Regions from separate parts of the Homo sapiens genome. Here all the other regions are linked to region 1. The links are contacts of gene promoters, found by promoter capture Hi-C in blood cells and fetal thymus (Javierre and others, 2016). All regions are on one chromosome and are shown on one strand. Each heading gives the region's core, a stretch centred on a gene start or on the middle of the fragment in contact. The rest is flanking DNA. Distances are from core to core; before and after follow the strand shown.

The links. Contacts are between HindIII fragments. The CHiCAGO score rates a contact against its expected background, and 5 or more counts as called.
Region 2: a contact is called between a fragment that was not itself captured here and the fragment with the promoter of SLC25A28-DT in region 1, in 5 of 17 cell types (fetal thymus, total B cells, non-activated CD4 T cells and 2 more). The highest score is 6.7, in fetal thymus.
Region 3: a contact is called between the fragment with the promoter of ZFYVE27 here and the fragment with the promoter of SLC25A28-DT in region 1, in 2 of 17 cell types (non-activated CD4 T cells and naive CD4 T cells). The highest score is 6.4, in non-activated CD4 T cells.
Region 4: a fragment that was not itself captured here is called in contact with the fragment with the promoter of SLC25A28-DT in region 1 in 3 of 17 cell types (total CD4 T cells, fetal thymus and naive CD4 T cells); the score reaches 7.9 in total CD4 T cells.
Region 5: a contact is called between the fragment with the promoter of SLF2 here and the fragment with the promoter of SLC25A28-DT in region 1, in 1 of 17 cell types (fetal thymus). The highest score is 6.1, in fetal thymus.
Region 6: the fragment with the promoter of PYROXD2 here is called in contact with the fragment with the promoter of SLC25A28-DT in region 1 in 4 of 17 cell types (naive CD8 T cells, non-activated CD4 T cells, total CD8 T cells and 1 more); the score reaches 12.4 in naive CD8 T cells.
Region 7: a contact is called between a fragment that was not itself captured here and the fragment with the promoter of SLC25A28-DT in region 1, in 4 of 17 cell types (activated CD4 T cells, non-activated CD4 T cells, total CD8 T cells and 1 more). The highest score is 8.8, in activated CD4 T cells.

What each region holds. Positions count from the first base shown.
Region 1 is chr10:99,618,982-99,622,773 of GRCh38, forward strand. It overlaps SLC25A28-DT (SLC25A28 divergent transcript), which reads left to right and starts at 1,864. Exons shown (of 1, transcript NR_186534.1): 1 at 1,864-2,937. It overlaps SLC25A28 (solute carrier family 25 member 28), which reads right to left and starts at 1,458. Exons shown (of 4, transcript NM_031212.4): 1 at 1,064-1,458. The coding sequence starts at 1,354. RefSeq lists enhancers at 684-1,266, 1,850-2,432, 2,433-3,014 and silencers at 1,149-1,308, 2,039-2,198. The HindIII fragment of the contact is 4,603 bases long and covers 1,650-3,792 here.
Region 2 is chr10:97,685,920-97,689,711 of GRCh38, forward strand. AVPI1 (arginine vasopressin induced 1) reads right to left here and starts at 1,322. Exons shown (of 3, transcript NM_021732.3): 1 at 847-1,322. RefSeq lists enhancers at 459-1,412, 1,146-2,345, 1,413-2,366 and a silencer at 1,309-1,688. The HindIII fragment of the contact is 688 bases long and covers 1,447-2,134 here.
Region 3 is chr10:97,734,606-97,738,397 of GRCh38, forward strand. ZFYVE27 (zinc finger FYVE-type containing 27) reads left to right here and starts at 2,523. Exons shown (of 13, transcript NM_001385875.1): 1 at 2,523-2,716. RefSeq lists an enhancer at 2,239-2,388 and a silencer at 2,719-2,788. The HindIII fragment of the contact is 3,622 bases long and covers 1,853-3,792 here.
Region 4 is chr10:98,137,315-98,141,106 of GRCh38, forward strand. The region is part of intron 1 of R3HCC1L (R3H domain and coiled-coil containing 1 like); the gene reads left to right. Among named protein-coding and RNA genes, the nearest start is that of R3HCC1L, 4.6 kb to the left of the region's middle. The HindIII fragment of the contact is 209 bases long and covers 2,063-2,271 here.
Region 5 is chr10:100,911,362-100,915,153 of GRCh38, forward strand. SLF2 (SMC5/6 complex localization factor 2) reads left to right here and starts at 1,602. Exons shown (of 20, transcript NM_018121.4): 1 at 1,602-1,889. The coding sequence starts at 1,750. RefSeq lists a silencer at 1,122-1,391 and enhancers at 1,612-1,681, 1,702-1,751. The HindIII fragment of the contact is 2,989 bases long and covers 493-3,481 here.
Region 6 is chr10:98,412,785-98,416,576 of GRCh38, forward strand. It overlaps PYROXD2 (pyridine nucleotide-disulphide oxidoreductase domain 2), which reads right to left and starts at 2,398. Exons shown (of 16, transcript NM_032709.3): 1 at 2,225-2,398. The coding sequence starts at 2,351. It overlaps HPS1 (HPS1 biogenesis of lysosomal organelles complex 3 subunit 1), which reads right to left. Exons shown (of 20, transcript NM_000195.5): 20 at 3,414-3,792. The HindIII fragment of the contact is 3,850 bases long and covers 204-3,792 here.
Region 7 is chr10:98,438,838-98,442,629 of GRCh38, forward strand. The region is part of intron 3 of HPS1 (HPS1 biogenesis of lysosomal organelles complex 3 subunit 1); the gene reads right to left. Among named protein-coding and RNA genes, the nearest start is that of HPS1-AS1, 5.6 kb to the right of the region's middle. The HindIII fragment of the contact is 2,948 bases long and covers 634-3,581 here.

The DNA.
Region 1 (3,792 bases), core at 614-3,113:
GTCTTTGTCATATCAACAGTCCCCTCTAGTTTACCTCTCCCTCAATTCAGTCCTCACCTTTAATGGCTGGCACCTTTACTAATGTACAAGAATAAGAACTGTAAAGAACAATAATCTGTTTCTTTCTTCACCCAGCTTTCTTCAGAAGGACCTGACTTCAGTACACATAAATCATCCTGCTTGGTTGTGAATGCAATTAGTTTTACTTTCACAAGAATCGTGTCCTCTTGTTGATCTCTTTCCATTTTCTTCATACTTACATCTACTTTCTAATACCGTCACACTTCCTTTCTAGGCAACTTCTCCCTTTTTGCCAACTTCAGGTGGCCAAAGAAATATGCTATCAGTTTCATCTCTCTTGTTTGGAGGCTGATGTGCTCCCTGAACATACAGTCCTAATCCCAGCTCAATTTTCATGTTCAGGAAATAGGTGGGGTATCATGCTTGCTTCACAGAGAAACTGAAACCTATTCCTGAATACGATCTTTCCCACATTACTTCCAGTCTGGAATTCTGCATTCTCACTGCACAATGATTTCCAATCACTCATGTGTTAAGATTTAACATGTAAGTCCTTTATCTAGCTGAGAGATCCCAGATTCGGGTTCCTGCCCCGTCAGTAAGGGAAGATACAGCAAGGAGTTTGTAAAAGCACTAGCCCAGAAAACATCTCAAGCCGTTAGATCCATTTCAGGGTCTGGTTCACGCCAGTTGGCTTCACCTTAATCGAGTTAGTAGCACTTACCTGAGCTTCGGGATACCCCATCCCACCCTATTCCTGTTTAGTCCCAGGTGGGGTCCAGGGCTTTGGCTGACAGATTTTCGATCCTGAGTCCCGATTCAGATTTCACTGACGGTTAGAAATAGGTCCTGGTTCCTGACTGGGATCAACTCCCAGCTGGGACCTTGCTTGAATGGAGTGTCGGTTCGAATCATGTGGTAGTGGCAGGAGCCAGGAAGGAACCCATGTCGGCTCCGGCTCTCAGCCGGGATCCTGGCTCCGGACAAGACCCAGGGGTCGGGTCAGCCCCAGGTCGGGTTCGAAGCCGGGTGCAGGTCTCACCTTGACGCAGTCGATGGGGTACATCACGCAGTGCTCCAGGATCCCTGCCACGGCGCCTGCCACCATGTGCGTGGTGACAGTGGCTCCAGCCGGCAGCGCCTCGTAGTCCGGGCCGGAGTCCGGATCTTGTCGTACCGGGGGCCTGCAGGCCCCGGCCTCCCCGCCGCCGGCCCCCCGGCCCACGCCCCGCTGCAGCCACCCGTCCAGCAGCGCCGACTCCCCGGGGCTCCGCCCGGGCCCTGCCGCCGGCCCCCCCGCCACACCGCCAGCACCCCGCCCCTCCAACTCCATCCACCCGGGCCAGCTGCGGCGCCCACCCCCGCCGCCGCTGCCACCACTGCCGCCGCCGCCCCCCGGCCCCGTAGTGTCCGCCTCAGGCGCGGCCCAGAGAGCCCGGGGCCTCCGGCTCCCGCTTGGCCCCGCGGACACGCCCCCCAAGCAACCATTGGTGGAGACGCCAAGTTAGACCCACCCCTTTCCTTACGTACGAAAAATCAGCCGGTAGTATTAGCGAAGTCGCCTGTCATTCCTCCGCCCTGAGGCGTTGCTAGCGCCTACATCCCACCTTTTCCCCTTTGATCTTAGAAGCTTCTTGTTTATTGGTCACTGATTGGCCGACATGTGCGATCAACCCGCCTCTGACTTTTAGAAGGGCGGGAGAAACTTAAGGCTGAACTTTGATAGGCTCAACCACTCTTGATACTTTGACCGCGGCCATTGGCCCGCACCACGTCGGTCCCCGATTGGCTACAGAAAGAGCGACGCGCCCAGGGACTCTAGGGGCCGACTTCGGGCCCCTCACTAGCGCCTGCAGAGCTGCGGTCCCTGTGCGCGGGATCGCGTCGGGGGCGGGGCGGCGACAGGCCTTCAACGTCAAACTGCTGACGGGCGCCGTTACGACCCGCGCTCCCGTGCGCTCCTCAAATTCTGAGACGCGTGGCTGGAGAGCGGGCGGCCCTGGCCCCGGAGAGCCGTGTTCCCGCGGGATCTCGTCGCGGGCGTGAGGCGGGGCCGGCCTGGGCCGGTCATCCCTGGCTGGCGCGACCCGCAGCCTGTCCGGGAAGCCGTTGCGACATGCGGGCTGGGAACCGCCTCACCTCCAGGGGGGACCGCGGCGGCCCGCTAGACTCTGGTCGGGTCTGGAGTATTGGGCCCTCTGGCCGGACTCGGTGCTCCTCAGGCCCCAGCGCCCGGCACTGAGCCTCGCATCCACATTCGCAGAGTAAACCCAACAAGTGTTGAATGAATGAGGTTCCCCGGGCCCCGGCTGTCACTGGGCTCTGCGCCAGGCCAAGAGCCGAAGGCGGGGGAGGAAGATGTCGAAATGGGCGGGATGATTCACAGATGACGGCCGGTGGCGAGGCGGGGCTGGAGGCCGCATCCCAAAGGCAGCAGGGAAGTGCGGCGGCTGTGGGGAAGCTCGGACGCACGGCCTGGCCGAGTCTGAAGCATCAGTATTTTGTCCCTGAGCCGGCGCGCTGATGGGTCCCCCGCCTGGCGATGAGGGCTTCTCCCTCCCTCGGGTCAGCCCGGGTCCTGAGAGGCAAGGCCAGCGATTCCCGGCCTTAGGACCTCCTGCTCTAGGGAGCACGGGCGTCTTCTTCCATTTGCCTTCCCCGAGCGTGTTGGCACAAGCTGCCCGCGGTTTCCAGCTCTGTCTTCTCTGTTTTACCCAGATGATGCAACTGTGGACTTCTCCATCTGTTCATAGGTTTTCCTTGGATAGGAAAGATGTTTTCCTTTTTTCTTTCTAAAGTTTAGCTCTTCTCTGGGCTTCCTTTTTAAAAACTTTTTCTACTCTCTTCAGCAGTTGTTATTAACCTTTAGGTCGCGACCGTTTGGAAAATAATAAAACTACGAATTCTCTTCTCCTACTTCCACCTCCCATCCCCTGTGTGCACTCAAAATTTTGCATATCATTTCTGCGTTTCAGAGTCCCTGAAGGTGCCATGTGGACACCCTAGGGGTCCATTAACCTGGTTAACCTCTCCCTGGCCGGCGCAGTGGCTCATGCCTGTGACCCCAACACTGTGAAGGCCGAGGTGGGACGATTTATTGAGCTCAGGAGTTCGAGACCAGCCTGGACAACATGGCAAAACCCCGTCTCTACAAAATAATAAATACAAAAAAGTACAAAAATTCAAAAATTAGCTGGGTATGGTGGTGTGCACCTGTAGTCTCAGCTACTTGGGGGAGGATTGCTTGCGCCAGGGAGGTCGAAGCTGCAGTGAGCCGTGTTCATGCCACTACACTCCAGCCTGGGTGACAAAGCAAGACTTTGTCTCAAAAAAATTTTTTTAAAAGGAACTTCTCCCCCACAGCATGTTCAGTCTCTCCTTTTCTCTAGCATATTTAGCTTGAGAAATGAATAGGTCTCACAAAAACCCATTCAATCCTGCTAGAGTACTAATTCCCTTTACTGCCAGATTACTCCACTAATGACCTATCCACCTCTATGTCCTTTCTCTCCTTAAGCTCTTTACATTTTTCACTCTTTTATTCATTGGTCATAAATGACCTTTCCAAATCCATCGGTCTTTTTCCTATTCCCGTTTTTCTTAACAGAGATAACACTTGCCGCCACACCACATTGGCACTTTTTACTAGCTTCAGAAACCACTCTACCTTTTAGACATCTCAGTCGCTTACACTTCTCTAGCCATTGAAGTGGAACATCCCTAAACGTTTAATGCTTCTTGGTCATCTTTAATACCTTAGAGAACTTTGCC
Region 2 (3,792 bases), core at 541-3,040, 1.9 Mb before region 1:
CTGGCTGTGCTGCTAACTGGGTGACCTTGGATAAGTCTCAGTTTCCCCTGCCACAAGTTGCTCGTCATCAAAATAGTATAAGGCCAGGCCTGGTGGCTCACGCCTGTAATCCCAGCACTTTGGGAGGCTGAGGTGGGAGGATTGCTTGAGCCCAGGAGTTCCAGACCAGCCTGGTCAACATAGCAAGACTGCCTCTATAAAATTTTAAATAAGCTTTTTAAAATAAATGGTGAGTATAAATAACTCTTAACAGGAAAAGGGAGATTAAGTTTGTGACGGCATTCCTTCTAGTACCTGGTATACCACAGACATTCTATGCATGCTGGTTGAATGAATAAATGATGAAGGGAAAGGCTGTTTGACTACCAGGGGCTATAGAATCATTGTCATTTTCATCATCACAGCCATCAACAAATCTGTGTACTTTTAAATCATAGCTTTATGATTAAAATCATAGAGGCAGCTTGTTCAGTGTCAAGCGCAGAACAGAGCACGTTCAGATGGGTGCTTTCTTTCCTCCTCACTTAAGGTGGCACTATTGTTATACCCATTTTACAGATGAGAAAGCTACACCCAAAGTCACACAGCTGGCAGGTGATGGAAGCTGGGACATGAACCCAGGCAGTCTGACCCCAGCACCCGGGCTCTCAAGCCACTGTTATTTTTGTTCCTGCCAGATGGCTGAGGAGGTCTTCTGGGGAAGGTCGGTCCCAGAAGCCTTTCGGAGGCTATCTGCTTCTGTAGATTGTGGAAGGAGCAGGGAGGGATCCAAAGTCAGGACTCCCAAGCTAGCCTCTGTACCCTCTGCACTCCACTGCCCGGTGGAGAATTGGAGCAGGTACTCACCACACTGAAGGGCAGCTCCGACAGACCTCAAATGGGGATGGGGCAAGCTAAGATGCGCCCACTCCAACCTCTTCCACAGCCTTCAGAAAGGGCAGGCGCAGCTCTGCGAAGGTGCTTACAAGGGCCAGTCGGTGATCACGGGCAGCACAAGAGCATGGCAGAGGGTATCCTGGCCGAGGTCCTAAGGCGACATCTGCAGCACGAGGAGGCCCCGGGACTCAGACGTGGCCGCTTCGCAGAACGACGGGGTCCTAAGTGGATCTGGCGGTCGCGTCCCGCTGGCACCCCGGCTCTGACTGTCGCCCTCCGGCTCCCACCGCAGCGCCGAGCTGGGCCGCCGACCTACGTACCTGGTTGCTTGAGGCAGGCCGCACGCAGCCCCAAACTGGTCCGGGCCACTTGGGTCACAGCCGCGGTTCCCGGGAGAAAGCGCTCCCTAGCCCCGGAACAGCCAATCCTCGGCCCTAGCCAGGTATGAGCTCCCAGGCGAGCCTTCCAAACCCAAGGCGGAGTTCCGTGCGCCAATCATCGGTGGGAGACAGGGAGGGGGCGTGTCCATCCCCGCCCCCCGCCTCCGCTGGCCTCGAAAGCGGAGTGCGAAGCTTCCTCAAACCTAATCGGCGGCGGAGCGGCGGTGAGGGGGCGTGTCTGCCCGGGCCCTGCCCACCGCCCTCTCCGCCCCCGCGCGGCGCCCGAGGCGCCCCCTTCATTGACGTCAGTCCCCAGGGCCAGCGCGGTTTTGCTGGCGCGGGAGCTGGGCGGGGCTGCATTCCTGCCCCAGGGTGCGGCGAAAGCTGGCCCTGCCGGGTACACGTGACGGATGCCCCTTCTCCTGGGCCCGAGGCCAGCGCGCGCGGCACTGACTGCCTTGCAGCGCGTGGCCCTCTGCAGATCCTCAGACTCTGCCGCTCAAGTCCCCTCCCAGCCCACCGTTTGGCTCCGGCTTTGAGGGAGAGGAGGGGGCAGTCTGCTGGAGTCAGACCTTGGGCTTCAAAGCCAGAATGTCGTGGGTTCAAATATTGGGTCATTTGTGCGACTTTGGGCCGGTTACCTAAACAAGACCGTATTTTAAAGTTTGTATGCATTCGGAAATGTTCATTAGTGACCTATGCTGTCCGAGTTCCTTGATAGGCCGTAAACAAGAGAGACGGAAAGACCTATAGCCCTTGTCCTGGGGAGTCTACAGCCTAGTAAGGGAGGCAGGCATTAAACAACCTAAAACATGGAGTATGTGATTACAGTTGTGATCAATGTTATGGCTATAAGAGGATAAATATGGAGGAACCTAAGCTTCCTCTGGGAGGTTCAGGAGGGCTGAAGAAGCAGCATTTAAGCTGAGATATAAAGAAGGAGTTGAAACTGGTCAAATGAAGAGGAGTGGATCTGGGGAGACTGCTTTAAGGAAAGAGGGAAAGGCATTTGGTTGGGCCAGGAGGTAGCTTGGCTCCGGAGGAATTAAATGCGACCCGGAGTAAGGCTAGCAAGAGAGAGCACGGTGGGAAGTAGAAGGCAGAGGCAGGCAGAGAAGGTTGCATGTGATCCTTGGAGGGGTTTAAACAAGGAATGGCATTATATGTACTGTGTTTATGTAACGGGCATTTTATAGTACTTACCACGTACCAGTAGTGTCAGTCAGCACTTTGCAAATTTCATCATCATGACAAGTTTGTGTTTTTAGAAGGTCACTCTGGCTGCAGTTTGGAACTTGGATTGGAGGGGGCAGGAGTGGAGGCAGGGTGTCCAGTAGGCCTCTGATAAATGCTTGTTTTGTCCTTGGAAGATGAAGTGTTTGTGCACTTGTTCAGCAATGCTCAGGAAAGGCTCCTGGGTCTCCCTGACTTCCTTTTTACTTCATAGCTGACCTCTTATCCATTTAAGCTTGATTTTTCTTCTGTAAAAGTTGTGGGTGGGAAGGGGAAGAGCCAGCACATGGGGCTTTGTGAATTCCTTGTTGCAGCGTGAAGGGGATGCTTGGGAGCTATTTGTCCTCACCCCATGATCTCCAGTTCCTCTCTCTGTCCTTCTGCACAAAAACAGCGTAAGTGTTGTTGTGCTGTGGCTAAAAGGGTTTTTTGTTTTGTATTTTTGAGACAGAGTCTCACTCTGTTGCCCAAGCTGGTGTGCAGTGGCACCATCTCAGTTCACTGCATCTTCTGCCCCCTGGGTTCAAGCGATTCTCCTGCCTTAGCCTCCCGAGTAGCTGAGACTACAGGCACGTACCACCACACCTGGCTAATTTTTGTATTTTTTAGTAGAGATGCAGTTTCACCATGTTGGCCAGACCGGTCTTGAACTCCTGACCTCAGGTAATCCACCTGCCTCGGCCTCCCAAAGTGCTGGGATTACAGGCGTAAGCCACCATGCCCGGCCGCTAAAAGGTTTTTTTGTTTGTTTGTTTGCTTTTTTTGAGACGGAGGCGCACTCTGTCGTCAGGCTGGAATGCAGTGGCACGATCTCGGCTCACCGCAACCTCTGCCTCCCGGGTTCAAGCGATTCTCCTGCCTCAGCCTCCCGAGTAGCTGGGATTATACGTGCAGGCCACCATGCCCGGCTAATTTTTGTATTTTTAGTAGAGATGGGGTTTCACCATGTTGGCCAGGATGGTCTCGATCAATTGACCTCGTGATCCTCCGGCCTCAGCCTCCCAAAGTGCTGGGATTACAGGCGTGAGCCACAGCGCCCGGCCCGTTAAAAAGGTTTTTACAGTGGCTTCTCTTCACTTTTCCTCAAGCCCTGGGGAACTGTTGAAAAGAACAAAGAAATCAGCGATGTTCGTCTCCAGTGGAAAGTATTGGTGCAGAGACTTTCAGCCAACTACTTTGCTAAGGAGGGGACTGTGCAGGCTCCTAAACCAAAGGCTGAGCTTCTGAGCCAGTGACTCCCACTGGCCCATTCTAACCAATGGGGAAGCCAGACTCTTGGCATATCAGTGCTGGGTGAACCTAG
Region 3 (3,792 bases), core at 1,273-3,772, 1.9 Mb before region 1:
AGTTGCAGTGAGCCAAGATTTCTCCATTGCACTCCAGCCTGCGCAACAAGAGCAAAACTCTATCTCAAAAAAAAAAAAAAAAAAAAGGTGAGAGTAGTCTGTAGAAAGGTACAGTAATGGGAGAAGGTGTGACATATCCGAGAACTGCCAGAGTTGAATACACCAGGCTTTGGTTTTATCCTGGAGGTCACAGGGGGCCACTGAAACTATCCACCAAGAGAGTGGTCTGAGAAAGGTACAGAGGGGTGGACAGGGTGGGGGATGGGAGTGGGTGGGGAGTGGCGATGGCCTATCCTGGAATTCAGACCTGAGGCCAGGTTAGGAAACGAAGAAGAGGGGCCTTCAGAGGCTATCTGCATGACAGACCCAGGAGCTTTCGGGGAAAAGACCCATCCTAAGGGAGGAGAGGCAGAGTCCAGCAGATGGGCCTGGACCACCACAAAGCTCAGTCCATTTCTCTAAGGGGTGGTGAGTGGATTTCTGTATATGGCTTAGTGATATGTGTGGGAATTGGATCTTTCTACATTTTGGCCTTTCGTGGATTCTTGTCTGATTTTTGGGCTAGGGGTGGTGGTGGTAGGGCTTTGAGTAAAAATAAAAATCACAATGATTGCTAACGATTTTTGAACACTTATAACATGTCAGGAATTTACATACTTTAGCTCATTTAATTCTCATCACAGCCCCACACTGAGGGTACCACTATGGTTATCCCCATTTTACAGCTGGAAAAACCAACCAAGCAATTCATCTGAGGAGAAGCCCTCCTACCTTACTTATGTTGGGACTGGCGCATGCCGGGTAATTGACAAAGTCAACTAAAGCAGGGAGCTTTGAGAAAAATACCTACACAGGGTAAGCATTTACTTTTGGGACAATCGTCAATTTATACATAGTTATAAGAACTAACACAGGGTGATCCCACAGACTACCCCCCAATGGTAACATCTTGCAACCCTTCTTAACAGAATGCCTACTATGTGCCAGGTACTGCTTTAGGTGCTGGAGACATAGACACGGGAAACGAAACATTAGCTGACAGAAGCCACAAGAGTGAATGAGATCCTCACGGAGTGCCTTGAGTCAGAAGAAAGAAGGGTAGCAAAAGGAGCCCCAGCATTTGAGGGGTAGGAAGAAAAGCCCTAAGGAGACCTTGAAGGTCGGAAAGAGAGGAGAGGGTGGTGTCATGGAAGCTAAGGTGGACAATGGTGCCAAAAAGGAAAGAGATTCCAGTGCTTCTGAGGTCATCTGCAAGGAGGACTGGGAAGTGTCCATTGGATTTAGCAGCCAGGATGTCACAGGTGAGCAGGCAGGTAGCCCAGAAATATGGAGGGGAGCAGGACCACAGTGCAGTGAGGAGTGAATTGGGCGAGGAAGCAGCGGTAGAGAGCACTTCACAGTGAGTCTTCCAACTCATGTAGGAAAGAGGGGGTAAAGTTAGGCTAAAGGAGAAATTTTCCATGAATTTTGTCTCTAGAATGATGATTAAGAGTTAGCGAGAGTCAAGATTTCAGGCCTGTTAGAGCAAAGCCCTAAGGAAATAAGAGTTGGACCCTGGAGCACAGCTAAGTCCTGGCTGGAGGGATGGGCCTGTCTTTCTGAAAGGAGATAATGGAGGAAGAGATGCAGTTAAAGCTCTGTGGCTACTTGAAGAGGGAAGTGATTACTTCCAGCTGGGGCACTCAAGGAAGGGATACAGACATTTGAGTGCCAGGGGCATTTGAGGGTAACAGTGGAGGGGTTCAGTTGGCCAAAGTTAAAGGCAGCTGAAAGATGGCAGGAGACAAGACCAGGAAATGCAGACCAAGGTGGGTGGTGGTATGGTTGGGGCGTTGGGGTCAGATGACACATAAGCTTCAAATTCCAGCTCCCATTTGCTTCTTAGCTGTGACTCTAAAGAAGTTCCTTAACACGTCTGAGATTCCCCATCTGTAAAATGGCGACAACCCTAATAGGGTCGTTGGAGGAGAACTAGATAATGTCTAAAAAGAGCTCAGTCCGGTTCAGTGCTTGGCTCCTCTGTACCTGAGCGCTAAGTCACTAATATAAAGCCATCGGATGTGTGCTTTAAGGGAAATTAACTGGGCCACACGGTGTGAAGTGAACTGAGCTGGGAGAGGCCTGCACAGGACCTTGTACACACTAGCTACTCCGGAAACAACTGCATGCTCTGCTGGGCATCTCATACAGGATACGGTGTCTTTCCGGGGCTCACACACAGTCCCCAGTTCAGTTCCAAAGTTGGAAGGAAAGAGGATGAAGACGTAAATTCTTCATTTAAGCCTCTCGCCAACTGTTCCCTGCGGCAAGGCAGGGCAACGAGCTGCAGGGTCGCCAAGCACGTGCTTCCAAGGGTCCTCAAGGCTTTGTGAACGGCGGCCGGCCAAGGACAGAATTAACTCCAGCCTGGAGCGCGCGGGAAAGACGCGCAGGCGCACTGCTGGCAAGGGTGCTTGCCTGTGCTGGGGTGGGCGGAGCTAAACCCGGAGCGGGATGACGTCATGAGGACGCAGCCGCAGAGCGATTCGCGTCCCGGAAGCGGCGGTGGCGGCCGCGGCGTAGGCGGAGGAGATTTTCGGACCTGCGACTTCCGAACAACCCTGGCAGGAGGAGCGGCGTTCAGCCGGGGGAGGCCTGAAGAAACGCTCCGGGGCCCAGTGGCTCTACCCCTGCTCCTGCCCGACCCTGCCGCCTCCCTCACGGAGCCAGCGGCCGGGTAGGTGAGGTGCCGTCCCCCCGCGTCCCAGTGTCTCCGCAGGCTGTGTGTAGTTGGGTGCTTGGGCGCAGCGGGGGCCGCCACATGCTGGCCCCACGACCTCGGGCATGGCCTTCCCTGTCCAGCCTCACGGGCTCCATCAGGCCCCCCTGGCTGCAGAGGTGTTGGCCAAGGCCAGTGCGGGCGTCGATATACCTCGCCCCTTCCTGGGCTCATACCTGGCGCCGCTCTGTGCCCTTTCGCCTTGGCTCGGCCTGCGGGGATTTCGGGGTCCCGTTGGCCCCTTTGTCCCATCCCCTCACCCTCCCATCAGGTCGCGGCTGATTGCCTGGGACTGGTTTATGTTGCTCTTCGCCGAGGTTCCGCCCCCTCGTTTGCTGCTTAGAGTTCAGGATAGGACTTTGAACTGGGAAAGACCGTAAAGGCTCCTCGGTTTCCTCATCAGAAAGGGCAGACGGGAATGGGGCGTTCTGATGCCGACTGCCCTGGGGCAGAGATGGCCCAGGAAGTTGTTGGGAACCGAAGGGAGTGGGAAGAGTTAGAGGATCGGGCGAGAGTCCTGGAGCACGGTATTTCATTCACTCATTCAGCAGGCATTTGTTAAGCACCCACTGTGTACAGAAGCAGTCGTGAATGGAGGCCAGTTAAGAGCAGGGAGTTTTACTTTGACGTGGTCAGTGCTCTGCACTTGATCTTAGCCACAAGGCCAAGAAGCGATGTGATGTGATAAGTGCTCTGTTAGGGTGAGTACGTGATCCTTTGGGAGCATCGGAGAGGGTCTCCCAGTCCAGAGTTGGGGGTGTTGGCAGAGACTTCCCAGAGTAAGGGAGTGATGTTTAAGCTGATACCTGAAGGATGAGTAGGAATTAACCAGGTAAAGAGTGGGAGAAAAATGTTCCAGGACATCATTTCATTTCAGCCCATGGGCTGCCTCGCTGCAGCGATCATTTATGCTTGGTTTTTATGATTTTTAGTTTTGATGGATCTTTGGGGAAAAGAGCATTGGATGGAGAGTACAAAGAACAGGATTTTAGGTCTGAATAGTTCACTTTCCCTTGCTCACAGGTTTACTGTTG
Region 4 (3,792 bases), core at 917-3,416, 1.5 Mb before region 1:
TGTTTCCTAATCTCTCAAATGGAGGTAAATGGCATTATGTCACAAGGTGTCTACAAAGATGAAATGAGATGTGACCATAAATGGCTTACTAGTGCTGGGTACAAATAAAGTTCTCATTATTTTGTTGCTGTTGTTATTGATGATTATGATAATAGTGATGATGATAATTTTAGGTATTTTCCTGAAATTCCATTTATCTGTAAAATGAGGATAGTCATCCTTAATTCACAAACTTTAAAAAATACTGTAAATAGAAGTTGTCAGATTGCAGTTTGTTTTTTAGCAATTGCATTTTATATAAAAATTATATTAGATTTTTTTTCAACTTTAGAGGTTCCTAAAATGCTGTTGTGCAAGGTTATTGGGCTTTGCTGTGTTTCTGTTTTTCTAGAGATTCCAAATGTTGCTTTGTACCTAGTTTGTTGAAATTGAACTGGTGCTTCATTTACAACCTGTAGTAAGAATGCAATTCTGTACATTGTAGCTTGTAGCAGAGCAATTATCTATCTTTATGACTCAGATATTGACTAGGATAGACGTTTATGGAACAGTTTTGTCTTCCTGCCTTATTTTTATTTTTATTTTTTTTAAGCCAGACTATTAGACTTTAAAATTTAAGCTTATTGGATAGGGTCTGGGAGACTTGGTGACCTTCATTTTTTCAAGATGGCATTTCTTAGTGACTGATGCTAATGATGGCATTGGTATGTATGTATCTGCAGGGAGTGAGAGTTGAGAAAAACCAAGGAGGAAAGCCTTATAGAGAAAAATGGTTTGTTGGTCAAGGCAAAGTCTTGGAGTTTAGAATTGAAGTATATATTTTTTACTTCCTTCAAGTGCCATGTTGACTACCAGATATCTGCAGATTCAGATGCTTAGGAAATGTTTCCTTTACTCTCTTTTTTGATGTGGTATGCCTGTGCTATGTTTTGCCAGCTTCTTTCTTACCTTTAGTTATGAATCAGCAAGATAACTATTTTTTCACACCAGACTTGTATACAAAGCTATGACAATAGAAAGTCACTTCCATTAAAATCTACTTTGTATGCTATAATGTGTTAATTTTTCCTTTATGTTTTAATCTTAAACACTTTTGGCTGGGCCTGGTAGCTCACTCTTGTACTTTCAGCATTTTGAGATCCTCTGAGGTAGGCTCATTTGAGGCCAAGAGTTCAAGACCAGCCTGGGCAACAAAGTGAGACTTCATCTTTATTAAAAAAAAAAAATCAATTAAACACTTTTGTTCCTTGACTGTTTTTTACTTAAAAGGAATTTTTGGAAGGTATGCTAATTCTCATCTATAGTGTGTGAGTATGTATAGTGGATGCTCAGTAATGAGTGTGCTGAATAGTTCTGAATAGGAACATTTTGTTGATTGTCCTAGGTCACTGAGGTGCACTCTGGAGAGGCCATGTAGCATTGTGGCAATAACCTATGCTTTGGAGTCAAGACAGACCAAGGTCTGAATCCAGGCTCACTAGATGTAACTTTGGTTCATATGATCATTCTGAATTCAGTTTCTCATCATCTGGAAGACAGATTAGACTAACCCTGCATGGTTGAGAAGATTAAAGATTATTCGAATGAGGCACATATTAGCCAGGTTTAGTATAATATTAAAGATTGGGGTGGTGTTGTTATTACTATTTTTAATTTTTATTTTTTTTCTGAAAGGTATGGATTTTGTTGATACATCTATATTCATTCCCCTAATGCTTCAATGATCAGTGTGTTTCTTAGCCAAGGTTAAGGTTGTTGACTGTGACCATGGAACCTAGAAACACACAGCAAAGCTAATTGGCCAGCATGGAGTTTGAGTCTGTGACCTTGTCCTCATTAGCTCCATAAGCTAACTATTCACAAATATCTCACCAGAATGAATGAAAAGACTGGTATATTTTTTATTTGGCCCTAATGCAACTCATTAGACATAAGTAAATGAACTAGTGCCAGAAGCAAAAGTATAGATTTTTCATTAGCTTATATAAATATATGATTAGCCGTCACACTATGTATAAAACTCGTGACCTGTAGGATGATCTTTGACAACCCCAGTAACCTAAGCTTATAATTTAGACATTTCTTTTAGTTGTTGAATTATATTTGTTGTAGACTTCTCACCTATAGGAGAAGTGAGAAGAAATGGAGCTAGGCTATTCATGCCTTGAAAGAGTACCCTCCTTCTGTTGTGCTACCCACGAGGAAATGTGCTCTTCGCTAGTGCAGAAAACATTTAGAATTATCCAGTAATGAGCCCAGCAGGATGGATGAAGCTTGGGGAACTCCTAAGAGCTTATTGAATTACAGAGAAATTCCAGTTGTCAAAGCATTAGATAGAGGAAAAGTTATAGGGTGTTACTTAGCAGCAGTAAGCCTGCATTTGGAGAGAATTTTCTTTTCTCTTAATAAAACATGGACCAATTGCTTCGAGTCTGTGGTGTCCATTTTTCACTGTCTCATGCTAGCCTTCTGTATAGTTTTTCATTCTTCAAATTCACCCTTCAGTTTTATTAATATTTGTTGTCCTTCTTGTATCTTTTTTTTTAATGCCAGATATAGCTGGATTGGGACTAGGGATAAAAACAGAAGCAGAGAAGCACTGTTGGAAAACAGATTCTAGTATCTAGTATCGTGAGGTTTCCAAATAACATGGGTCAAACTGAACATGAGGATACGGATTTCTGGGATAGGCAAATGGCTGACAGTTCATGACCATTTAACCTGTGCAGAGTGAATAATGTGGGCAAAAGGTGTGTAGCACTCCTTAATATCACATTTGTCTCTTAGAAAAGAATCTGAATGCCTGTAGTGTTCATATTGGCTTGCAGTTGTGCTGTTTCAAGTTCTTTGCCATGGAATGCCAGAAGACTATTAAAGAAAGAAGGGAAGCAGTTGGATTTACATCCTGATTTCTCAAATTGTATGCCAGTCGTCCTGTTTCTGTTTTCTTGTCTTTAAAATAGGGTTAATAAAACCAACTCTGCTTGTTTATAAATATTAAAAGGAAAAGTAAACAGCAAGGATGTATTAAAAATGAGGTGGATAACTGGGGGAGAGACGGAAAGGCAGAATCCAAGAGAGGAGCTCAAAGACACCTACACACAGAGTCATAGAGACACATGCAATAGGCAGAGAGAGAGGAGGGTCAGTCAGAGACAGAGAAGTCAAAAACAGAGAGGGACAGTCACCTAGGCAGAGTTAGAAAGCAGGGTAATCAGAGATGTAGACAGACGGGCAGAGTTAGAAATGAGGGACAGACAGATACAGGGAGGGAGACAGAAAGAGTGAATGTCATGAGTAAGATGGAGAGCTTATTGGATTTTTGTCTGTTATTTGAGAAGAACATGTAAATATTTATAGTTGGCTAGGAAAGGGAAAATAAACAGATATTAATAGTAAATCAAGTAACATGAAATTTTTATTACACTAACATTTTTCCTTAAATACTAAGTTTATTTTGCATATTCAGCATGCAAATATCAAGTCAATTTATGTATTACCTGTTAACTACTTACGTGACCTCTCAGTGTAGTTTAAACACATTTTTAAAAAAATTAAGATTAATATTAATTTTTTCCTCAAAAAATCTAATATATAACTTACTATAGAAAACATGGCAAATACAGGAAATTTAAAAGGAGAACAGAAAACACTCATAATCTCACAATCTAAACATAACATAATGAGGCCCACATTTTTCATGTTTTTTTTTTCCCAGTCTTCTTTTTCTAGGCATTTACTAAAGCCCATCTACTTTCCTGAAGGACCCAAAAGCTGTTTATAAGTCCAAAA
Region 5 (3,792 bases), core at 352-2,851, 1.3 Mb after region 1:
CTATTTTGGCACTTCCCTTCTTCCGCCACCATTAGCTAGTATACAGCTGTACATATGTGCTTTTGGGGTGAATGTGAAACCTGTATATTCACTGTTTACCTTCGACCCTCTACTTTGCCAGCTTTTTGTCCACTTTATTCCTTATTAATTCTTCCTCCCGGGGACTAAAGGGGAAGGGAAAAGGAGGTGAACTTGGAGTCAGTCAGGCATGCTTAGTGACCAGAACAGTTCAATTTCGTTTTTTCTAAATTTTAATTAATTAATTTATTTTTGAGACAGGGTCTTGCTATGTTGCCCAGGCTAGTCTCCAACTCCCGGGCTCAAGCTATCCACCTGCCTTGGCCTCCCAAACTGCTGGGATTATAGATGTGAGCAACTGTATCAGGCCAATAGTTCAATTTCTATACAATAAACTTGAAAGACCCGTCCAAATTATTTTATATCATTTAAGATTTTTTTCCATCCAACTGATTAAATAACTCTGTCAATTAAAGCTTGGACATCTTGAAATTGATATTTTGGTTGTTAACAGTTATTGCAACAGTATTTGACCTGTCTCTGGAAGATTTTGTAAAGAAGTAAAATTCGCTGTAGGAATCTATCTGGGGAAGAAAGGGAACTATAATTTGCTCTGTACCTGTTACATGAGAGAATCTGAACTGTGCAGTGTACACTGTTTTATCCTTTTATGGTTTACAATTACCCAGAAAAGTGAGTAAAATGCCCGTTTTACAGATGTGGAGGCTGAGGTTCAGAGATACTGACCAGTCTCTCGGTTTATAAGGAAAACCATGGCTAACAGCCTCCAGAGCACAAGCCCTTTACAAAGGAGGGTTGGAGATTGCAGGCAGCTTTTACTTATCTATGCTGCCCACGCTTAACATGGAAAACTGAAAGCTGACCTTGTGTTCCTTTAAAAAATCTCCAAGGAAGTCGGCTGCAGAGACTTCATGGTAACTCATGAGAAACAAAATGCTTTTGTGGATTAACAACTGTCTTTATTCCAATGGAGTTTTTTGGGGGTTTTTTCTTCTTCTTAAAGACAAAAAAATAATCTACCGCTGACACTCAACAAGAACCGTCGTAGAATGGACAAGTCTTCGGATCGCGCTGTGCAGATCCCTCAGCAAATTGTGACAGTATTATGGCACTTTGGCCTAAGCTGTTAAAGAGACGATGTAATGAACAGCTGCGGATTTCTGAGGCACAATTGTGTGACACAGGAAGCCCAAGTGTTGGCCATCCTCAACGAAGGCAGCTGCCGGGCTCCGGTTTGCTTCAGCAAACCCTCACCCCTCGCCTTCAACCAGGCGGGTGTCGTCAGCTGTCCGCCAGCTGCTGCCCGCGCCTTTCCGCCCCCGCGCGCCGGCCAAGGCCGAGGCGGCCGGGACCAGAGGCGCGCGCCCTCAGTGCATGTGACGGGGTGGGAGGGGGAGGTTTCTTCCTCCCCCGTCCCCAAGCCCCGCCTTCTCCAGAGAGGCTGCGGCTTCCTATTGCGCCACCACCGAAATGACCACCGTGCCAGCCAATCAAGACGTGATTCATGAAGTAAGACCCGCCCCTTACTGGTCCCCAGGTTCCTTCCCGCTCACGCCGGAGTCACTTCCGAAGAGAGAACCGCCATGAAGAGAGAAGGGGGTGCCGCCCACCTCTGCTCCGACAGCCTCCCGGAGTCCCAGCAGCAAGACGGCAACCACGCACCCAACTTCTCCAGCCACGGCTCATGCCGCCGTCGCCAGCGGCGCCGACATGACAAGGCGCTGCATGCCCGCTAGGCCAGGTTTCCCCTCATCCCCAGCCCCGGGGTCGTCGCCCCCGCGCTGCCATCTGAGACCCGGTAGTACCGCCCATGCTGCAGCGGGAAAGAGAACAGAGAGTCCTGGGGACAGGTACCGTGCAGAGGGCTTGAGAAGGGGCCGGGTCGCGGGGGCAAGGGTATGAGGGGAGGGCTGCAGACCGCCGCTCTTCCAGTTCCCGCCATCCTCCGCGAGCTCAGGCGTTGGCATTTCGGGGCCTGGCAAATCCCCGCCCCGCCTCCGCGCAGGGGCTACTGGGAGTTGGAGTTTGCTTCTCTGTAGTTGGGCAGCTGCTCTTGGTCTAGTGACCACCAGCCTGGACAGCTACGGAGAACCCGCCTTAGGTAGAAAGAAAGTGATTTTTTTCCTTTGCAAGAGTTTGACCCGGGACCCTAACTGCTTAATGCATATTTAGATCGTTTTCTGTACGTTGTCAGTTCTACTGATCCTAGTGGTTTAGTAATATAAACCTTTTCTATGTTGTGGGTGAAATTATGTAACCTGTGATGAGGGAATCCCTTCCACGAATTACTTTGTAGTCCAGCGTGCACGCTAGTTCATACTTAAAAGAACTTGCAGATTTGGAATGTGACGTGTTTTCTCTTTCAGTAACTTCACGCCTCTCCAAGAGGCTAATTTTTTTGTAAAGATTTTGTGGGAGCTATGTAATGAGATGGGGAGTTTCATCTAATGACATCCTCTGACAATAAAACATGTTTAAATTCCCTACGAACTTGGTACTGTCTTTTATTTTAAGTTAAATTGTATTAAGTTTTAACAATATTCATGTTACTAATACTGTGGTACAGGCCCACAATCCCTTATCTTAACTCTGAAAGCCAGAAAGCTATGAAAACCAAAACGTTTTCAGTAAGTTTGGCACCACATCTTACTGGGCAGCCAGATCTGACTAAAACTAATGTAAGGCTGTTTGTGGTCTTTATCCCATTAAGTGTGAATATTCATGTTTTGCTGGAGAAATGTCAGTGGATTTGATTACAGGTTGCAGCACCAGACCCCACTGGGGACTTTCCATAATACATCCAAGTTATCCCCTTCCTAAAATCTGATAAATTCAGAATTCTAAAACACATTTGGCCCCAGAAGGTTCAGATAAGGGTTTGTGAAACTGTTATAATTGTGTGTGTGTGTGTGTTTTTTTTTAAGCCAGTTGTTAAATAAGCAGTGGACATTTTGTGTGCATATGAACTTAGAGAACCTACCTCTTGAAAGTTACATTCATGGTTATTTTACAGGTTTCTTGTATGTTTTACCCAAAATCATTTTTTCTCTTTCTGGTGTATTAATCAAAAAGGAGTCTGAGGTCCAATATTTTAGGGAAGAGATACAGTGTTACATTTAGTAAAATGCATTTAGAATTATCTTGTGTGCAACAAATGAGCTGCTTCTGGGTCCCTTCCCATCTCTCCTCAATCAATAACAAGATCAATAACAAGGTATCATCCTTCTTCCCTTTGCAGAACCTCCAACATTTACTCTGGTGGAGTTAATTTGCCTAGTATAATTTATGTAAACAAATGCATATATTCTTCCATAGCCCGTCACTCATATTCATCTCATAAGCACTTAGCTTTTATACCAGCATCTCAAACAAGCGTGATGGACTTGGTAAACCAGTAAAGATGTGCATTGCTCTTCTAATGTGACCAGTAAAGTGTACAAGAAGCTTAACCTTCAAGAAACTTGGATTGTTGGAATTTTCACTGAGCATTCCAACCTCATAGTGGATGAATGTTTAGGGAAATCAATAGTCTATAGCTTATTCTCTTTCAGTAAAATGATACATTTTAGCAAAATTTACCAGAAAGTTAATTTTTTGTTCAGCATATCATAACATCCCCTTTTTTGCAGCTGACAACTCTACAGTGAACAAATCAGAATACGAATTCTGGTAATGGATTCCTATTTCACTTTAGCATTATTGCCAATGTCAGAACTTGATTAGTTAAGCCAGATAATGAAATCCAGTCTTTAC
Region 6 (3,792 bases), core at 1,148-3,647, 1.2 Mb before region 1:
CACTTGTAGGCAAGTCACCAAGGCAGCTGGTGACCTAAAGTCAACCTTCCCCATTAGGAGACAGCAGGGTGAGCTGTGGCTGAGCACGGAAGGAGGCAGGGGGCTTCTCTGAGGCTAAGTGAGGTGCTGGAGATGGCTCCCACCAGCCCGGGGAGTTTGTGAGCCGGCTGTCAAACAGCCATTGATATAAACTAAATTATATAAGCTTACAATTAAATAAATTAAAAACAAAGGTAATAAATACTCAAAACACACTACCTCCTATTTGTTTTACTACATTTGACTGTTGCCCATGCCCTGGCAGTCACTGGCCTCTATGTACATATCTGCATGGTGGACACACTATACAATGATGTGCTACTGGGTATCTCTCCTAAATCACATTGAGCAACCTCATCTTGGTAACAGAAAAGGCTATGGTGGGAGTATTTACACCACTGTCATCAGCAAATATTACACAGAAGGGCTGAATTTATTTTTTGTGGTCAGGCTTAAGAAAGTGATGGGAAAATGCTAATAATGCAGATTAAACCTAACAGTGTTAGCTGTTATAGCATGAATAAATAGCACAAAAATTGAAGGAAATATTCTAGTATTAGAACAATATTATCTTATTTGAGTAACATCATTCCTGTCATTTAAAGAAGGAGGCCGGGCGCAGTGGCTCACACCTGTAATCCCAGCCCTTTGGGAGGCTGAGGCAGGTGGATCACAAGGCCAGGAGTTTGAGATCAGCCTCGCCAACATGGTGAAACCCCGTCTCTACTAAAAATACAAAAATTAGCCGGGCGTGGTGGTGGGCGCCTGTAGTCCCAGCTACTCGGGAGGCTGAGGCAAGAGAATCGCTTGAACCCAGGAGGCGGAGGTTGCAGTGAGCCGAGATTGCGCCGCTGCACTCCAGCCTGGGCAACAGAGCAAGACTCCATCTCAATAAATGAATAAATAAATAAAATAAAAATAAATTTTAAAAAATAAAGGAGTAAGGTTGGGACATAAATCTTTGTTGTTTCATTTGTTTCACGATCATCCTACTCTTTACAGAAAATATGGAGCACCGTTCTCTTTGGAGCTACCCTCATTTGTCATTTGCAACTATAGGTTGGCTACTGAGTTTGGCAAAAATCAAAGAAAGCCTTTGGTAAGAATCACTCGGGTAGACTGCATTTAAATTGAGAGTATTGTATCTTTATTTGTAAAATTGTGTGCAGTGTATCTTTTATTTCAATATTTAAAATAAGCATGTGTATATGTGTATATATATGTACGTAACACATATACATATATATACACATATATGTGTGTATATATACATATATATACATGTACACACACACATACATCACACATTTTTCCCTGGAGAGGTGAGTGTTGAGTATCTACCAGCTCGCAACTGCTCTAGTACATATGAAAATGAAGGCATGCCCTCAAAGCTGCATGTTGAGTGCCGTCTGCTTTCGGTCCCGTCATTATCTCTGTATAGACCCAGTTGGCAATCATGCATTTGGGGCCCTCTGCAAGTGTGAAAGGAAGGCACTAAGGAAAGACCACCTGGTCCTGGGCCTGCCTCTTCCCCTAGCACCCAGTAGACTGTGATACTCTGAGCCCAGGGGTTGGCAAAGTGTGGCAGATCACTGCAGATCCCCAAATGTCCCAGAGCTGCAAGGCAATGGGGTCCATCTCCCTCTGCAGACACGCAGTAGGAACTCTGGGACTCAGTTCTGTTTTATCCTAACTGGCCTTTATGAAATGACTGCAGTTTCTTGTGACGAGGGGTGGCCTCAGTGGTAAGGTAGTGGTGACCAGAACTCAGGGCACTGAGGGGGCGGGGTGCTGGATTTCACTTGTCTGTTGGCCCAGGGCTCTTTCCAACCCTTACAAACCATAGGCTGAGAATGTGGTGGAAACTAGGTCACTTTGCAAGAGATATAGGGAAACCCCTGAGCTCACCTAGTCTTCCTGTCATTCTCCATGGGAAGATCCAAGCCCAGAGAAGGCAAGCATTTGCCCCAGGCCACACAGCAGAGCCAGCACCGGAATCCCAGGTGCCTGCCTGCCAGATGGAAGGGCTTTCCATTGCAGCCCCTGCTAGCGTATAAACTTCTGGCTGGGTTATGCCAGAGGAGAGAGCAGTGGGGCTTGGCTCCCCCTCCCCCTCCCCACCAAGCTCTGAGCAGGGCTGTCTTCCCGCCCCTCAGCTCTGGCCCGGCCTGCTTTACCACTTTACCTGCTCCTATCACCACCGCATCATACTCAGGCTTCAGACCTCCCCTGGCTTCCGTGTTATCTCGTCTCCACGCCGGGAAGGGAGAGGCGGCCACAGCCTTGCAGAGACCTCGGCCACTTGCAGCCATTTCTGCCCCAGGCTGGGCCTTGCTAGGCAGGGAGTTTGCTAGCGATTGGCTTTTGTGCTGCCCTAGGCACGGGGTGGAGCAGGGAGGAAGCAGGAAGAGGAGGAGCTGCAGTCCCCCTCCAGGCCCCCTCCACCATGCATTCTTGGCCACAGGCCAGCCTCCTGCTGCCCTGGGGCTGTGCTGGGCCGTCGGGAGTGTTGCCTATTAACCAGGCGGTGTCACCTCCAGGATGCAGGGGATAATGGCAAAACTGACAATCCACTGGGGTTCCTATGTCAGGCTGGCATTGTGCTGAACCCTGTAGGCAAAACTCCCCATTTTACAGATGAGGGCGCTGAGGCTGCGGGGTTAGGGAATGAGTGGTGGAGGCAGAGTGGAGCTCGAAAGGGCCCTCTCCTCCCCTGTGCATCTACCTTCTCAGTCAGAACTGAAACGCCTGGGATGGCAAGTGCTCGTGTCAGACTCTGCTCCAACTCCATGCTGAGTCTGCCAGTGCAGAGTGGTGATGCCTCTACGCCCACAGGAGGCGCCCAGGGCGGCCATCTAGCGTCACCACGACCAGGGCCTTCAGACACCGCAGAGGCAGCTGTGTCTGTCGCTGAGGAGCACTGGAGTCCTCTCCTAAATGCTCAAACACAAACCCACAACGAGGGCTTAGGGGCAAGTTCGCTGTCTGTAATTCTCTGGTGTTTTAGTTTTGAAGGCCTGGCCAGTTCTCCTCTTTTGGCACCTTGCCCATTTTCCAAGAATCCCCAAGGATTCGAGGTCACATCTGTAAATACCTCCAGCTAAAGTTCTTTCTGACCCTCCCTTAGGCCTGCCTTGAATTAGGAGCCCCTTTGTTCTCTGCCCATTACTTAGCAGAGTGTTCCCCTAGGAGGAAAAAACCCCTTGGAGCGGAGAGTTCCTGCACTGCTCTGATATCGCAGTGTGACGGAAACCTGCTATTGGTAACGAATCTCAGAACTGGGAGAGTATGTGGAGATGATCCTAAGAGGGGGTTCCGAGGACCCCTCCACACACCATGGACAGTTACCCCGCATGTGAGCATCTCTGCTAAGATCTGATTCAGGATGTTCACTCCTGTGTTATTTATTATATAGAAAGATCAAGGGGACTGGTTAAACTAGACATATCACATCCAGCCGCTGCTAAAAACTAAAGGGAAATAGTAGGTGACAAAAGCAGGGGTCCTGAACAGTGGTGGGCTCAGGGGATTGGAGTTTTTTCCTTTATGTTTTTCTGTATTTTCCACAATCCACGCTTTTCATTGCCATTCCATCAGATGATGTTAAGGAGGAACACAGATCCAGTCACCTGAGGGGATACTTCCTCACTGCCACCTTCTCAGGGTTTAGACCAACATGTGGGTTCTAGTTCCCCCAGCCCCAAAGCTGTTCCCTGCAAGGAAGAGATCAGTCTTTGAGCAAATTTTGGCTCA
Region 7 (3,792 bases), core at 858-3,357, 1.2 Mb before region 1:
GCAGGCCCTCTCGCCACAGGCCTGGAGGCCTAGGAAGAAAAAACTGTTTCAGGGGTTGGGCCCAGGGCCTTGCTGCTTTGTGCACTCTGGGGACATGGTGCCCTGCGTCCTAGCCATGGCTAAAAGGTGCCAACATATAGCTCTGGCTGTTGTTTCAGACAGTGCAAGCCCCAAGCTTTGGTGACCTACATGTGGTATTGGGCCCACGGGTGCACATAAATCAAAAACTGAGGTTTGGGAACCTCCACCTAGATTTCAGAGGATGTATGGAAATGGCAGGATGTCCAGGCAGAAATTTGCTACAGGGGCAGAGCCCTCATGGAGAACCTCTGCTAGAGTGATTAAGGGAATGTGGGGTCAGACACCTCCACACAGAGTCCCCACTGGGGCATTGCCTAGTGGAGCTGTAAGAATAGGGCCATCATCCTCTAGCCCCCAGAATGGTAGATCCACCGACAGCTTGCACCATGCACCTGGAAAAGCCGCAGACACTCAACACCAGCCTGTGAAAACAGCTGGGAAGAGGACTGTGCCCTGCAGAAGCACAGGGGTAGGGCTGCCCAAGGCCTTGGGAGCCCACCTCTTGTATCAGTGTGACCTGGACGTGGATAGAGTCAAAGGAGATCATTTCAAAGCTTTAAGATTTGACTGCCCCACTGGATTTTGGACTTGCATGGGTCCTGTAGCCCCATAGTTCCAATTTCTCCCATTTGGAATGGGAACATTTACCCAATGCCTATACCCCCATTGTGTCTTGGAAGTAACTTGTTTTTTATTTTACAGGGTCATAGGTGGAAGGGACTTGCCTTGTCTCAGGTGAGACTTCAGTCTTGGACTTTTTGGTTAATGCTGGAATGAATTATGACTTTGGGGAACTGTTGGGAAGGCATGATTGGTTTTGAAATGTAAAAGGGACATGAGATTTGGGAGGGTCCTGGGGCAGAATGATATGATTAGGCTTTGTGTCCCCATCCAAATCTCATCTTGAATTGTAATCCCCATAATCCCCACAATCCTCATATGTCAACGGAGAAACCAGGTGGAGGTAATTGAATCATGGGAGCAGTTTCCCCCATGCTGTTCTTGTGACAGTGAGTTCTCATGAGATCTAATGGTTTTATAAGAGGCTCTTTCCCCTTCACTCAGCACTTCTCCTTCCTGCTGCCTTGTGAAGAAGGTGTCTTGCTTCCCCTTTGCCTTTTGACATGATTGTAAGTTTCCTGAGGCCTCCACAGCCTTCTGAACTGTGAGTCAATTAAACTTCTTTCCTTTACAGAGTACCCAGTCTTGGGCATTTCTTTATAGTGGTAAGAAAATGGACTAATACAGGGGAGATAAAAATATTTGGTGTATATAAAGGAGCATACTCATATATTACTTGGCGGAATTATAAAGTAGTACAATATCTTTGAATGGCTTTTGACTCAACATTTTTATTTTTAGGAATTTATCCTAAATTTATCCTAGGAATTTATCTGACATGAGATAAAATTTAAGCACAAATGTTTCTTAAAGCAAGAGTGATATAGCAAATTAGGAGCAATATTTATGTCCATATGAGGAAAATGGTTAAATAAAGGATGATACACTGATTCATGTACTGGAGTACAATGTTTCCATTAAGAATTATGCTTCTGAGACTATTTAAAAAAATAGAAGAAATATCTTGATATAATGGCAAGTGGAAAAAAAAACAGGCAGTAAAACTGTAAATGTGGTATAATCCCAATTATATAGAAAAAATAAAGACCCAAAGAAAGTATATTAAAAAGCTAATAGCTCTGGGTCATGGAATTATAGGTCATTTAAAAACTATCTCTTTGTATTTCCAAATTTCCTACAATTAACTCATTATTTATATGATGAGAAAAGAATGTGTTGCACATTAACAAAAAAAAAAAACTTTAAAGACCACCTTTCCTTTACACTACTCATTTTTAGGAACTGAAAATTCAGGAGTTCGTTCCTTTGCCAGGTTTTCAATAAAGAGGAAGAGAAAGGCCACCAAATAGTTTGCTTCTTAAGTTGACATAGTTGTAACAGTAGTTTAAAAACTGAAATATTTAAAAATTCTTAATTTAAATATTATATGTATTGACTGTTAAAAAATAAAAAAGCCTAACAGTTAGCTTAAATAAAACCACTTGAATGTCTATGATCTCTGATATCTTGTGTTTGCCTAAAGACTGTGATGAGAACACGAGTGATGTTGATGGTAAATGGACTCCCTGAGGTGGAGTCAGCTCACTCATTGGCTGGATGATGAGACCCCTTAGAGCAGAAAGGGACAGAGAGGCAATCAGCCCATGCTGCAGAAATGTAAGAACACCTTCCACTGCATCCCCAGTAAAAATATTTTTAACCCAAAATTAATCTGGAAAACATTTTCAAAATAAATTACTCCTTTAAAATGTAGAGTGGAAATTATGTAAGTGAAAATGACAAGTATTTCTGAGTTGTAATGTTAAACTGTTGAACTGGATGTCCACATGCAAAAAAAAAATTATCTTCAATCCATAGCTCATACCACACACAAAAATTCAAAGTAGATCATCAGACCTGATATAAAACCTAAAACTATAAAACTTTCAAAAGAATATGTAGAGAAAACTCTTTGTAAGTTGGGCAAAGATTTCTTAGATATAACACTAAAAGCATAATCCATAAATGCAAAATGGATAAACTCGAGTTCTAATACTTCTGCTCTTTGAAAGATACCATTGAGAATACAAACACAAGCCACAAACTGAAAGAAAATATTTGTAAAACATGTATCTGATAAAGGATTCCATCCAAAATATATTAGAAGCTCTCAAAACTCAGTAAGAATAAGAAGAAGAAACAATCAACTCAAATAAAAACTGGGCAAAAGATATGGCAAATAAGCACATGAAAAGATGCTCAAAAGCATTAGTCATTAAGGAAATGAAATTTAAAACACAGTGAGATTCTAGTGAACATCTATTAGAATGGCTAAAATTAAAAAGACGGACTATAGTGTTGGTGAGGATATGGAGGAACTGAACTCTCAAACACTACAGGTGGAATCAAAAATTACACAACCACTTTGGAAAAGTTTGGCAGTTTATTAAAAAGTTACACATACACCTACATGACCTAGCCAGTCTATCCTAAGTATCTGTCCTTGGACATGAAAGCATCCATGTATACATAGACTTGTACGTGCATGTTCATAGTTGCTTTATTTGTAATAGTCAAAAACTGAAAATAACACAGATGTCCATCAACAAGTAAATGAATGAACAAATGGTGGCATCCTGATACAATAGATTACTACTCAATGACAAGGAATGAACGATTGATACATGCCACAACACAGATGAATCACAAAATAATTATGCTGAGTGAAAGCAGTCAAACCAAAACCAAACTAAATCCAAGCACATACTGTATGACTCCATTTATATAAGGCCATATGATACAAACTAATCTATCATGACAGAAAGCAGATCAGCAGTTCCTATGCGATGGGGATGGGAAAGAAGGGATTACAAATGTTTGAGGTGGTAGATATATTCCTTTTATTGATTGTGATAGAATCATAGGTATATACATATCAAAGCTTATCAAATTATGCACTTTAAATATGTGCAATTTATGGTATGTTAATCATACCTTAATACAGCTATTAAAAAATTAACGTGTTCAGCTTACGTTAAACTTTTTTTTTTTTTTTTTGCTCTGTCGCCCAGGTTGGAATGCATGGGCACAGTCTCGGCTCACTGCAGCCTCTACCACCTGGACTCAAGTGATCCTCCCACCTCAACCTCC